Linked DNA regions of Homo sapiens: region 1 is linked to region 2. The links are contacts of gene promoters, found by promoter capture Hi-C in human tissues and cell types (Jung and others, 2019). All regions are on one chromosome and are shown on one strand. The core of a region is centred on a gene start or on the middle of the fragment in contact, and the rest is flanking DNA. Distances in the headings are between cores, read along the strand shown. Region 1 overlaps LOC107987243 (a long non-coding RNA gene). Region 2 holds the start of C1QL1 (complement C1q like 1).

Region 1 (7,294 bases), core at 809-3,308, 40 kb after region 2:
ATGGAGAGCCAGAGCACAGGGAGAACCAGTGCAAATGGCTTCCTTCGTTCCTGGGAGGGGTCTTGGGGGTCACCTAGGACCCTCTCTTTGACAGATGGGAAAACCAAAGCTCAGAAAGGTTAGCATATGTTCAAACACCAGTCATCTGTCTAGCAGGGAGAAAGGGTGATCCCAGGAGCAGATAAATCCAAATCCCTTTCAAAGGCCCTCCTGGATCCTGGAAAATCAAATGTTCTTTCCAACTCTGCTTCCTTGGGCTAGTGTTTGAGCAAAAGTCTATTCCAGGTGGGCTGGGACTGGGGGCAGAGGAGGGAAGGAAATTGGCAGGAAAGTAGTTTTCTAAGTGGCTGATGGCTGCTTTGGGCAGGAGACAGGCTGCTAGGAACCTGTTCCCTCCAACCCCCTCCAACCCCCTCCAACCCCCTCCAACCCCTCCAACCCCCTCCAACCCCCTCCAACCCCCTCCAACCCCTCCAACCCCCTCCAACCCCCTCCAACCCCCCCAACCCCCTCCAACCCCCTCCAAACCCCCCCAACCCCCTCCAACCCCCTCCAACCCCCTCCAACCCCCTCCAACCCCCTCCACAACCCACTTGCCTGGGAAGCCTTTCTCCCCACACCCATTTTCTCTTTCCGGCTGAGGCTTACCCTCCATCTACGATGAACGTGGGGGGCCTGGGGAGAGGTAGGGGGCTGGGAAGCAGTCCTGTCTGCCTTTCGAACCTCATGGGCAGGTGGGGCTCCCCTGCCTGACATTCCTATGCTGCTCCCGCCCCCGCGTGGCTCCTCTGATGCCCAAATCGCCTTTTCCCAGATCCAATTAAAACAGCGTTTGGAGCAAGGTTGAAATAATCACATAATAATTTTCTCCAGTAAAGTTACTGGCTGGAGCCCGATTTGAAAGCTGAGCTGGTAATTGAATCTGAGGGGCAGCGACAGAAGAGGAGCTGGGGGGAGTGGTGGAGACTCCTTGTGGGGCCCAGAGGCTCCCGGCTGTGATTACCCCTCCCACCATTGGTAATAGGTGTTGCAACCCCCTCCTACTGTCCATCTCCATTTCACTCCCTCCCTCTAGTAACAGATGTCTCTTGGGGCTACAGAACTCCCAGACTTCAACAGGAGAACAGGCCCAGAGCCCATGCCATCAGACTTTCTCGGTTCACAGGCCAGACTGGGGAGGCCACATGCCCACAGTCACCCAGAGAGGTCAAGCAAAGCCAGGACTCCAACCCAGGTCTCGGACTCTCCAGCCACTGTTTTTTTTGTTTTTTTTTTTGACAGAATTTTGCTCTGTCGCCCAGGCTGGAGTGCAGTGGCACGATCTCAGCTCACTGCAACCTCTGCTTCCCGGGTTCAAGTGATTCTCCTGCCTCAGCCTCCCAAGTAGTTGGAATTACAGGCGCATGCCACCACACCCAGCTAATTTTTGTATTTTTAGTAGAGACGGGTTTCCACCATGTTGACCAGGCTTGTCTCAAACTCCTGATCTCAGGTGATCCACCTGCCTCAGCCTCCCAAAGTGCTGGGATCACAGATGTGAGCCACTGTGCCTGACCCAGCCACTGCTTTAATCTCCACTTCAGGTTTCCTGACTCCCAGGCCCTCCCCACTCTCTCCTGCTCTGCCCATCTTCCTCCACCATCTCCCAGGATTTCCTGGTCCCACCCTAACCTCTCTGCAGCAGGGAGGGGAAGTGACTACCTGCATGATCTCTGGGCCAGCGGGCTGTGCAGCAGGGGCTCCCTGCACATCAACAGCTGACATGACCAGACTGGGCAGCCCTGCTTGGTCCTCCACCATGTCCTCCCTCTCAGCATTTGACTGGGGGCTCAGACTATCTGCCATGTGTGGCTCATTCATTTCTTCCCTCCTCCCTTTCTTTCCTCCACTCTAAATATTCTTTATGTCCCTACTGCCTGTGAGGCCCTGAGCAGGATCCTCCCGCAATCGGGAGGTATAGACAGAGCGGCAGCTGTGCTCACAGGCCCGTGGCAGAGGTGAGCAAGTTAACACAACAAGAGGGGGCCCTCACCTGCAGCTGGGGGACGGGGCATCCTGGCTGAAGTGACCTCTAAGCTGACGTCTCAAAGCTGAAGAGAAGTGCGTGACTCAAGACAAATGCAAAGGCTGGGAAGCAGGAAACGCCCGGGTGTGATCTTGGGCAAGTTGAGGTCTCAGTTTCCTCATCTCTAGAATGAACTCCTGGCTCAGTTTGCCTCGTGAGATTCTGGGGAAGAACGAACATGGAGGTGTCTGTAAGATGGAAAATCCCACTTAACTGATGATCGTTTTTTGTTTTTTTTGAGACAAGATTCTACCCTTGTCAAGGCTGGAGTGCAGTGGTGTAATCACAGCTCACTGCAGCCTCGAACTCCTGGGCTCAAGCAATCCTCCTGCCTCAGCTTCCCCAGTAGCTGGGATTACAAACGTGAGCAACCTTACCTGGCTAATTTTCTTTCTTAAAATTTTGTGTAGAGACAGGGGTCTTGCTATGTTGCCTGGGCTGGTCTCAAACTACTGGCCTCAAGTGATCCTCCCACCTCAGCCTCCCAAGGTTGAGGATTAAGGCGTGATTAAGTGCTGGAATTACAGGAGTGACCCATTGTGCCCAGCCAATGATTGTTGCTAATGGAGGGCATTTGTCCCCTATCCTAGACAAGGGACAGAGTCTGGGGGCGGGGTGGGTCAGTGGTCGGGGTGGTGAGGGAGGCCGGAGGTGGGAGGAATGGGAATCGAGGACTTGCTCTGCAGAGTCCTTGTGGCTATTCGAGACTGGAAGCCAGCAGCTGGATGGGGGCGTTTTCTCACCACATGGCTGGGAGTTGTGGGGATGGAAGAAACCATAGGGTTTGGCCGGGTGCGGTGGTTCACACCTGTAATCCTAGCACTTTGGGAGGCTGAGGCAGGTGGATCACCTGAGGTCATGAGTTCGAGACCAGCCTGGCCAACATGGTGAAACCCCATCTCTACTAAAAATAAAAACCAGCTGGGCATGGTGGCGCGTGCCTGTAATCCCAGCTACTCGGGAGGCTGAGGCAGGAGGATCGACTGAACCTGGGAGATGGAGGTTGCAGTAAGCCAAGATCGCAGCATTGCACTCCAGCCTGGGCGACAGAGCAAAGAAACCACAGGGTTGGTGGCTGCTGGCAGGGCTAAGTCTGGTTCCTCTGGCCAGTGCCCAGCTTCCCCACGCTCACTATCCTCTGGGCCTGGGGCATGCTAAGCCCCAGGAGTCAAGGTGGGACTCTGAAGGGATCTACTCCCCTCCCTGCACCTCTCAGCCAATCAATGTCTGCTCTGCCCTCCCTGACTTCAGCAGAGTTGGTGCCAGATCCTGGAACTCACTGATTGGTTGAGGGAGCAACCCCTCTGCCCACCCCTCACCATGGAGGCTTTTGGAGAGACCTAGCCATGGGCAAGCTTTGTGCCCTGCAAATGGCTCAGTGGTACCAACCACTGAGCTGCCTGCCCCTGGGCCCTCATAAGACCATGTCTGCAGCCTCAGTGGCCTTCTGGGCACGGCTGGCCTCCTGGTCAGCAGCTGTAGGGGTGAGTCACGGCTCTCATTAGAGCTTAATTAATCAATTGAGCTAATCAGACAGCTGTGATGTGCTGTGGTTGCAGATGGGGGGGAGAGGGAGAGAGTTGGAGCGTGAGGGACTGGTAAGGCGAGCTGGGGCTGGCAGGGCCTGGAGTGGCGGCAGGGCCTGGAGTGGCAACAGAGTCTGGTGGGTTGGCAAGGGCGGAGGGCGCTGGAAAGGAGGATGAATGATCCTGACAAAGGCCCGTGATAGGTTGCTCTGAAAGGTGACCTTGGCAAGGTGCCAGAGACCGAGGCTGGGGGAGGAGGAAGCAGGACCTCTCCCACCTCCAGCTTCCTCTCTCATTTTTTATCTTGTTAAGTGTGTCTCCAAAGCTTTTTGAAATCCTCCACTGAATGGGATGGGAAAAGGAGACAAAGACAAAAAAAGGTAGGTCCTCACATTCCCAGTGATCCCAGTCTGATGGGGGAGGCCAGAGGTCTACTGGCAGCACAGACAGAGACCCAGACTAAGAGATGGAGACAGAGACACGGTGTCTCTCCAGGTGAGCTGCTCAGGCTTGGACATCTGGACTGGGTGGATGGGGAGGAGCCAGAGGGACCAGAGCCAAGGGTAGGCGGGAGTCCAGTAAGAATATTGGGAGGAGGGGAGCGCCTGAGCGGGTTTTACAATGTGATGTGCAAAATCTTGTTTCATCTATTTTTTTCTCACATCCGACCTTGGTGTTACCTTGGGGTGGGGAGCGAGCAGGGCAGGAAGTGCAATGGTGGGAAATGGGTTCCGAGAGGACTCATGGACAGCTGGGATAGCTCTGCCCTCCAGGGGCTTCCATTTCCAGAGGCTTACCGGGAGTCTGAGGCTGTGAGAGAGAAAGATCCAGGGCCTGGGACATGCAAGGGGCTACGGGAGATGGATCAGAGGAGGGCAAGCATTTCTGATGAGGCTACCTGGTAAGGATTCCTCCCAGAAGAGGTGGCATTTGAGCCAGGTCTTTCAGAATGGATGGATTTCAATCAGCAGAATTGGGTGTGGAGAGGAAGAAGGATGTTGCAGGAGGAGAAGCGGCCCAGGCAAAGGCAGAGAGGCTGGACAGCCTTAGGCAGGGCCAGTTGGCACAGCAAGTTGGGCCGGAAACAAGGTTACTGTTTGTGTCAGGTGGAAAGAGCTTGATGGTGAAGGGCTCTTGGAATCCCAAACCAAGGAGTTTGAAAGGGAATTTGGTAGACACTAGGAATCACTGTAAGTCTCTAACTGGGAAGAATAGGCTGAAAGTAGCTGTACAGAGAGGATGTCTATGGAAACAGTTCTTTGTAGGATGGAACCAAGAAGGAAGAAACCTGAAACAAGAAGAAAGAAATGGCAGGTGTGGTGACTCACACCTGTCATCCCAGCACTTTGGGAGGCTGAGGCAGGCAGATCACGAGGTCAGGAGTTCAAGACCAGCCTGGCCAACATAGCGAAACCCTGTCTCTACTAAAAATACAAAAATTAGCTGGGCATGGTGGCACATGCCTGTAGTCCCAGCTACCCGGGAGGCCGAGGCAGGAGAATCGCTTGAACCTGGGAGGTGGAGGTTGTGGTGAGCCAAGATTATGCCACTGCACTCTGGCCTGGGCAACAGAGTAAGACTCTATCTCAAAAAAAAAAAAAAAAAAAAAGAAGAAGAAGAAGAAGAAAGAAAGAAAGGCCGGGCGCGGTGGCTCATGCCTGTAATCCCAGCATTTTGGGAGGCCAAGGCGGGCGGATCACTTGAGGTTGGGAGTTCGAGACCAGCCTGACCAACATGGAGAAACCCTGTCTCTACTAAAAAATACAAAAGTAGGCAAGCATGGTGGTGCATGCCTGTAATCCCAGCTACTCAGGAGGCTGAGGCAGGAGGATCGCTTGAACCTGGGAGGGGGGAGGTTGCAGTGAGCCGAGATTGTGCCATTGCACTCTAGCCTGGGCAACAAGAGCAAAACTCCGTTTCAAAAAAAAAGAAAGGCCAAGTGCAGTGGCTCACACCTGTCATCACAACACTTTGGGAGGCAGAGGTGGGAGAATTACTTGAGGCCAGGAGTCCAAGGTCAGCCTGGGCAACATTGAGAAGCCCCATCTGCACAAAAAAAGAAAAAAAATTAGCTCGCTGTGCTAATGCACTACAGGTGCATGCACCTGTAGTCCTAGTTACTTGCAAGGCTGAGGAGGGAGGATCACTTGAGTCCAGCAGTTGTAGACTGCAGTGAGCTATGACCATGCCACTGTACTCCATCCTGGGTGACAGAGCAAGACCCTGTGTAAAAATAAATACATAAATAAGTAAAAGAAGAGGCTGGGCCAGGTGGCTCACACCTATAATCCCAGCACTTTGGGAGGCTGATGCAGGCAGATCATTTGAGCCCAGGAGTTTGAGACCAGCCTGGGTAACGTGGCAAAATCTGGTCTCTACCAAAAATACAAAAAATTAGCTAGATGTGGTGTTGCGTGCCTAGGGTCCCAGCTACTTGGGAGGCTGAGGTGGAAGGATCTCTTGAGCCCAGGATGTTGAGGCTGCCATGAGCCATGTTTGTGCCACTGCACTCCAGCCTGGGTGACTGAGGGAGATCCTGTCTAAAAATAAATAAATAAATAAATAAATAAATAAATAAATAAATAAAGTTAAATCCCAGATCTATCCCTTAGTTGCAGTCTGCAAAAGAAATAACTGAGGGGCTGGGCACCTCAAAGTGTAATCCTAGCACTTTGGGAGGCTGAGGCAGGTTGATCACCTGAGGTCAGGAGTTCAAGACCAGCCTGGCCAACATGGCAAAACCCCGTCTCTACTAAAAATACAAAAATTAGCGGGTATGGTGGTTTGACTATAATCCAGCTTCTCCGGAGGCTGAGGCAGGAGAATCGTTGAATTCTGGGGGCGGAGGTTGCAGTGAGCCAAGATTGCGCCACTTCACTCCAGCCTGGAAAGAGTGAAACTCAAAAACAAAAACAAAAACAAAGATATAACTGAGGGCTCACTGTGGCTCTCGGGACCTGGCAGGTGGGCTGGGGGCTTGGTCCTGGGGTAGCCTGGTGCTTCTCTCCACACTCCTCCCCAGGCAGGGCAATTGTGCAGCTAGGACAGGGAAGACCAGTGGGAAGTAGGGGCTGGGACCACTTGGGCACAAGATCAGCTGGCCCAGGTGTGAGATTCAGGTTTCCAGGTCCCCTTCCCTGGCTCCCAGCATCAGCAGAAAATGTCAGACTAGACCCACGAGGGCCTCCCAGCCAGCACTCGGCTGCCTTTGCATTGCCCTGAAATAGCCCTGTCCACTCCTTCCCACAAACCCTCGCGCCTAGAGCAGCTGAGAAGGAGGTCCTGGGTATCCTGGCCCCACCCCAGCGTGTCCAGCTCACCCACTGCTGGATGTGCTGTGTGGCTCTCAGAAAATCACACCCTTTCTGGGCCGCCCATCCTACCCTCTTTCTCCAGCCTCCCACTGAAGTTGGAGGGCCCCTGCAGACTCTGGGAGTACAGCCAGCAATAGCCAACCAAGGGAGGGGCGGCCTCAAAAGGGGCTCCCTCCCTCCCTCCTCACTTTCTCTTTTCCTCGCGCACGTTCATGGCTTACAAGCATACTGTCTTTGTATAAGAAACCTTTTTACAGCCTTTAAAGCAGGGTTGATCACAGCTATTCCCATTTGAGTGATGGTGCAGTTCCAAGAGGGGCCTTACCTTAGATGCTACAGCCAGAAGACTAGGCACTGACTGGGAATGAGAAGTACCCAAGCCCAGCTGT
Region 2 (6,736 bases), core at 2,536-5,035:
CCCAGCCAACACATTTGGGGACCAAAGTCATCAGCTGGGCTCCCAGCCCACCTTTAACACAGTATTCGCTGGGGCGTGTGGTTGTATGTTATGAATGTTCCCCCTGCATAGGCCATGAGGTCTTGGAGGGCAAGTGGACTGAACTCCTACAAAGCCTCAAATCTGGCTCCTAGTAGGGGCTCAAAACTAACAAGTGGGATGGCTAGTGAGATCAAATGAGTCTCTTGGGCAATTTGGAAGAAGTCATAAAGGACATGGGAGAGGGGGCTACGGGCCCCACTATTTCTCCTGGTTTTCTTTTCTTTTCGTTTTTATCTTTTCTTTTCTTTTCTTTTTTTTTTGAGACAGAGTCTCACTCTGTTGCCCAGGCTAGAGTACAGTGGCGAGATCTCACCTCATTGCAACCTCTGCCTCCTGGGTTCAAGTTATTCTCTTGCCTCAGCCTCCTGACTAACTGGGATTACAGGTATGCACCATCACGCCCAGCTAATGTTTGTATTTTTTTTTTTTTTTGAGACGGAGTCTCGCTCTGTCACCCAGGCTGTAGTGCAGTGGCGCGATCTCAGCTCACTGCAAGCTCCGCCTCCCGGGTTCACGCCATTCTCCCGCCTTAGCCTCCCAAGTAGCTGGGACTACAGGTGCCTGCCACCACGCCCAGCTAATTTTTTGTATTTTTAGTAGAGATGGGGTTTCACCGTGTTAGCCAGGATGGTCTTGATCTCCTGACCTCATGATCCACTTGCCTCGGCCTCCCAAAGTGCTGGGATTACAGGCGTGAGCCACCGTGCCTGGCCTAATGTTTGTATTTTTAATAGAGATGGTGTTTCGCTGTGTTGGCCAGGATGATCTCAAACCCCTGACCTCAGTTGATCCATCTGCCTCAGCCTCCCAAAGTGCTGGGATTACAGACGTGAGCCACCAGGCCCAGCCTCTCCTGTTTTTCTTTTGAGGGGGCTGGTCTGAATAACTATTAAAGTGCTGGGCCTTTGAAACCCCTAGTTAAAGCCACCTCCTTTTTTCCTACTAGCCTGTGGTCCCATCTCCAGTGAGCACCCCTTCATCAGACTCTGTCAACACCCTGCCCCTGCTGGAGGGAAAAGGAGCTTTTGAGATGGTTTTACCTCCCAGTGACTGAAGCAAGTTCCCCATTCTAAGCACATAGCATCTCCGGGGCCTCTTGTTGCCTCATCTCTGGGGACCTGCTGGGACTTCCTGAGGTGGTGCAGGGTCTAGGGCCAACCTGTGGCCCAATGACTGCCTCCCTATCCAGGCAAGCTGCCAATCCCCTGAAACCTCAGCTCTGTGTCAGCCCAAACTTCTTTGGGAAAGGAAGACATTCCATTGATGAAGGTGACATTGCTGCATCCCTTATTGGTGATTAATAGGGGGAATCATGGGGCTGTCTGCAGAATGAGCCTTTGCTGGATACTGGGGCCTCCCATTTGGTCAGGAACCAAGGACAAAGAGGAGAGACACGGGGATGTCTGATAGACACACGTGGGAAAGAGAGACATACAAGGAATAGAGAAGAGTGGGGTTAGATCCGGGGAGGAGAGGCCAGAAACCCAGGGAGAGATGGAAAAGGCAGACACAGGAGAGAGATGGACAAGAAACAGCAAAATAGAAGAAAGAGGCAGGGGAGAGGCAGAAACCAGAGAAAAGGTGTTGGCGGGGCAGCAGCCAGGCAGAGGAAAGAGAAGAAGGGCTGACTTATAAGCACCTGGCAGGCTATCTGCTCACTTTCCCTGCCTGCCCCTGTCTCTGCCCCTAAGACTTGCAGACCCGCAGGCTGGCAGAGCCTCAGGGCAGTGCTGCTGTGGGAAGGGTTCCAACAAGGTCTTGTATCTTAATCGTGAGAGATTCCTTCTCAACTTCCACTAGCTCAGCTTTAGTTCTGACCAGTGGTCCCCTTCTTCGAAGAGAATGCTCAGCCTGACCACACCCCCAGGTCACAGGCCACCACGAGTGAGAGCACTGGGAAGGGAGGTGGTATCAAGAGAGCTGGCTAAAATTGTCACCCCAGGGCGGGGCTGGGTGGAGGCTGGTCCTGGGGTCGGCCATTCCAAGGAGAGCTACACGCACATGCGAGTCCCGGTACCAGAGTCCCCGACACACTCAGTGCTTTCCAGCTGCAGCGTCTGAGATGGGGACGGAGAATGGAGAGGACCCCACACACTCCAGAGTCAGGAGGGGCTGGAGCTGGGAGACCAAGAGGAGGGGGAGTTTCCATCTCTTCCACCACCCCCCACCCCCCACCCCCTCCCCGCCTCAGGAGGAAAAACTCCCCCGCCCCCCAGACTGCCTTCTTTTTGGGGAAGCTCTGCTACAGTGGGAAACAGCTCCCCAACTCCCGGATTTTGCAAAGGGTGTCAGATTCGCCCAATGGTCCCTTCTCCAGGGCAGGGGAGGCACTGCAGCCAGGGCTGTAAGCACCGGGCTCCCTTTGCCTTTGTGCCCCAAACATTTCCTGCAGCCAGCCTTCTCCGCTCGCGCCCATGGCCACGCGCCTAGGCGCCCGCGGGCGCGGATGCTGCTTCTCCCTGTTCCATACGCCAGAGCCCATCCTTGCCCTCCCCTTATCGCCCACTGCTGTCGGCCCGAATCCACTTCCCAAGGGGCAAGCCCCCAAGGGCAAGTCCGTGCACCTGGGAGCCCTGCGCTCTGACTAGTTGGGTTCATTTCCCGCATTTCCAGTAGCGTTCCAGACGGTGCCCAGCAGCGTCTGTCTTGGAGCGGGAACCCAGGAACTGAGGATCGGCGATGTCCGCTGGCTCCGACCATCCCCACACGTGATGACCAAGCGGGGCCGCTGTGGGGTGGGATCTCCACCTGCGTCCGCCTGGCGCCCCCGCCAACTCCGATCAGGTACCCATTTGCCCCGGGCTCCCTGGGTGCCCTGGGCCCAGCCCAGCCCCATGCCCCCGCCTGGCCCACCTGGCCATTCTTGCAGAGGTCTGCCCACATACTGGTGCCGTCGCCGCCGCGCATGAGGACATGGTAGGTGAAAAAGTAGGTGCCGGGAATGTTGCACGTAAACTTGCCGCTGGCCGCGTCGTAGTTGTTGCCTAGGTTGGTGACCACGTCGTCAAACTTGAGTACCTCGTAACCCTCGTGGGGGTTCTTGAGGCCGGCGTAGAAGGCCACGCGCGGCACCGTGGTGTAGGTGGCAGTGCTGATGGCGCCGCTGCCCCCCGCGCCCGGCAGCCCCGGAGGGCCCGGCTTGCCTGGCTCACCCTTCTCCCCCGGCGGCCCCACAGGGCCGGGAGGACCTGGGTCCCCGGGAGGCCCCGGAGGGCCGGGCTTGCCGGTGCGGCCCGGCTTCCCCTGGGGGCCCTGCACCAGCGTGGAAGGCGGGGGCGCGCCGCTCTGCTCGCTCAGGGCGTCGCCGCCGTCGGTCCGCGCGCCGGCGCCGGGGCCCCGCGCGGGGTAGGGGTCGCACACCATGCGGCAGGTGCCCAGCATCTCATAGTGGCCTTCCGGGCCGCCCGAGCTCACCAGCACGGGGATGAGCACCACCAGCACCAGCAGCATCACCACACCCGCGGCGGCCGCTAGCAGCGTCTTTCGGCCCGCGCGGAGCCTGGGGAGCGCCGGGCCGCCCGGCCGCGCCGTCGGGGCAATGGTGCCGGCGGGCAGGGGGCGCGGGCTAGGCGCCCGCGCTCAAGGACGGTCCGGCGGGGCTGCGGGCATGGGGCCGGGCCCGGGGCGCCGCGCTGCGCTGGCTGCGCTGCGGAGCCCAGCCGCCGGCTCCTGCCTCGCGCCTCCCTCCTGCTGCGCTGCCGGACTGAGCGCCGCGGCCGCCGCCTCCCGCCTCCCGCCTCCCGCCTGCAGCCTCCCGCCTGACTCCTCCCGCCTCCTTGAGCCGGGCCACCGCCCCCTCGGCCGGGCCCCGCCCCGCCAGCTCCGCGCGGCTCTGGGCTCTCTAGGGGTGGGGCTGCGGGCGGGGCCGGCGCCTAATTGGGCCGCGGGCGCCTCGAGGTGGGCGGGGCATAAGGGGGCGGGGCCGCGGAGACCCCGGGCGGGAGCAGGGAGAGGAAAGAAGAGACTGAGTACGCGGAGACCGAGATTCGGAAATGGGGTGGGGGCCGGGGTCCGAGAGACCCGAGAGGCGCTCCAAGGGAAGGGGAGAGTAGGGACCAAAATGCGAAAGGGAGAGAGGGCCACAGGGAGAGCTAGAGAGCTCCGAGGGGATCGGGAGAGGAGAGGCTTCGAGGGTCGGTCACCAGGAAAACAGAGGGACTGGGGTCGCGACGGGCCAAGACCCGCAGGGGGCGGAAGCGAGGGGATAGCGCCCAGGTCTGCAGGGGACAAAGAGCGATTGAGGGGAGGACGGAGCGGGGAGCTGGAAGGTAGGATGAGAAAGGGGGTTATGAAGCGAAGAAGAGGATACGGAGGGGACCATTTGGCACTCAGGCCTCGCAGACCACCCGTCTGGGAGATCCAGATATCGGATGAATGCCTGTCCGGGGGCCCAGCGGAGCCAGACGGCAGCCGCCTCCTCCTTTCTGGATCTGACTGTTCCGGGACCCGTCTCCCCCGAGGTGGGGCAGGAGCTTCCAACCCCTCCTCGCCTCTGCCCCTTCCTCACCGAACTGTGGCCAGGCTGCTTTTTCCTGGGCCCTTTTCTTCCATCTCCCTCTGCTCAATCCCTTTACTTCTGCCTCTAGACCAGGGAGAAAAGGGGATCCTAAAAAGGTGGGCACCCCCACGTTATTTCTCCATGCTGACAGATGCAAATACGTCCCTGAGGGGTAACCCCCTTTTCCAGCCTCCAGGATGAGGGGTGGATCTCATCCAGCCCCTCAGCTCCTCCTCCCTCACTCCCCAGCCTCCTCCGCCGCCCCCTAACTCTTCTCCCCATCAGGCTGTGGGAGGCTCTCCTCTTCCTCAAGTGCAGCAAAGTGTTTAGGTTGCATAAACCGAAACGTGTCTGCTTCCATCAAAATATTTGTCACATTATCTGAGGCCCAGGTCGGGCTGCTCCACCGCTCCTCCTTCGCCCTCCTTTATCCGGCCCACCGGGGAGGATTCAGCCATTCGGAGGCGACTGGCCGGCTGCTAAAGAATGACATCCCAGCCTCTCCTCTCCCGAGAGCTACCCCCCGCCGGCTCACACTCTCCCTGTTGACCCTTCACCATGGGCAAAATGATTCCCTGGCCTTCCCTACCCAAGGTTGAGGTCGCTCACCTCATCCAGGGCTGGGAGTAGAAGGACACAGGGACATCCAACGAGGGGGCTGTGAAAGAGGACCCTCCAAGCACTAATGGCTGAGGCCAGGTTGGAGTGACCCCACCACCACCAAGGAGGGAGCTAAAAAATTTTCAATAAGTAGCATTTATTCAGGGTTTACTCTGTGCTAGGCCCTGTGTTGAATGTTTTACATACATGATCACCCTTGATCTTCACATCAGTCCAAAGAAGTAAAATCCAAGATTATTTTAATTTTACAGATGGAGAACTGAGGCTCTGGGAAGTTAAGAGATTTGCTTAAAGTCACACAACTAATAAGTGGGAGAGCCGGGACTCAAACTCGTAGCCTGGCTCCAGGCTCTTCCAACCTCAGCGCGATAGAGTCTCTAGGTACCGTTTACTGCCCAAAGCCCAGGGGTAGGGGGCTCAGGGCAGCCAGACCTCCCTAGGCTCAGGAAGAGTAGTCTTCAGCGCTCGGCTGTCAGGCAATCCGGTCCCCGGTTCCCCACGGCGGTCTCCTCGGTGTGCCCCACCAAGAGCGACAGGGCTGGTGACCCGAGGGGCGCGTGCGCGGTCGTCAGCCTGGGATTTGCACGGACCCCCTTCTCCCTAGTACGCTCGCTCGGGGGCCCCTCCTCTGCTACGCCGCTGGGGCTCGCCCGCCACCCACAGCCCTCGCAGAGCCCTCCGGGCACACCGCGGCTGGCCGCCCGGGGCCAAGGATGGGGCGGGAGCGCCCACCCACCCCCGCGCCGGCCGGGGCATCCAAGAGGCGCGCTCGCAGCCACACGGCGCCCCGCCTCCCGCTCCGAAAAAGCTCCTGCTCCCCTGGCGCGGTGTGGCGTCTCCGTCAGCCCAGCCGGATTCTCCCCGCTTCGCTGGAGTGGAAAATAACGGCTTCAAACTTTGCAGAGAGGAGCTGGTGCCAGCACTTTAATTAACAGCCATCTTGGCCTGTGAGCTGGGGCCACCGGCTTGGCGCCTCCCCTGGGCTCGCCAAGCCCCGCCCTGGCTCCGCCCAGGCCCCCAAAGAAGCACCCCTTAACCACCTACCCGACCCTCCACCCCCATCCCCTGCTCTCAGCGCCCCTCTTTCCGGGAGATGAGGGCTTGGCTGATTGGGGAGAGAGTGCTGCCTTGAGGGGCATCTCCCAGCTTAACACCTGAAGACAGTCACAACCCCCCCATCCGCCATACTGCCCCCCAACATTGTTTAAAGCTGGACTGTTGAAGATTCTGAAATTAAAGACCTGAGTGCCAGCCGGGCGCGGTGGCTCACGTCTGTAATCCCAGCACTCTGGGAGGTTGAGGCCCGAGGATCGCTTGAGCTCAGGAGTTCCGAACAAGCCTGGGCAGCATAGGGAGATCCTGGCGTTGTGGCTTTTACCTGTAGTCCCAGCTACTCAGGAGGCTGAGGCGGGAGGATCGCTTGAGCCTGGGAGGTCGAGGCTGCAATAAGCTGAGATTGCGCCACTGCACTCCAGCCTGGGCGACAGAGCAAGACCCTGTCTCATTAAGAACAAAAACTAAAACGGCTTGCGTGCC

Evidence for each region. The method cuts DNA at HindIII sites, captures the fragments that hold promoters and counts their contacts. A contact is called where the count stands out against the background at its distance.
Region 1: a fragment that was not itself captured here is called in contact with the fragment with the promoter of C1QL1 in region 2 in 1 of the 25 tissues and cell types used here (mesenchymal stem cells).

What each region holds. Positions count from the first base shown.
Region 1 is chr17:45,006,257-45,013,550 of GRCh38, forward strand. It overlaps LOC107987243 (a long non-coding RNA gene), which reads right to left. Exons shown (of 6, transcript XR_007065771.1): 1 at 7,231-7,294; 2 at 2,033-2,227. Among named protein-coding and RNA genes, the nearest start is that of C1QL1, 42 kb to the left of the region's middle. RefSeq lists enhancers at 1-348, 1,879-2,379, 6,368-7,154. The HindIII fragment of the contact is 3,219 bases long and covers 450-3,668 here.
Region 2 is chr17:44,964,518-44,971,253 of GRCh38, forward strand. It overlaps C1QL1 (complement C1q like 1), which reads right to left and starts at 3,786. Exons shown (of 2, transcript NM_006688.5): 1 at 2,935-3,786. The coding sequence starts at 3,531. It also overlaps the pseudogene LOC112268183. RefSeq lists silencers at 3,717-4,076, 5,913-5,982. The HindIII fragment of the contact is 17,092 bases long and covers 1-6,736 here.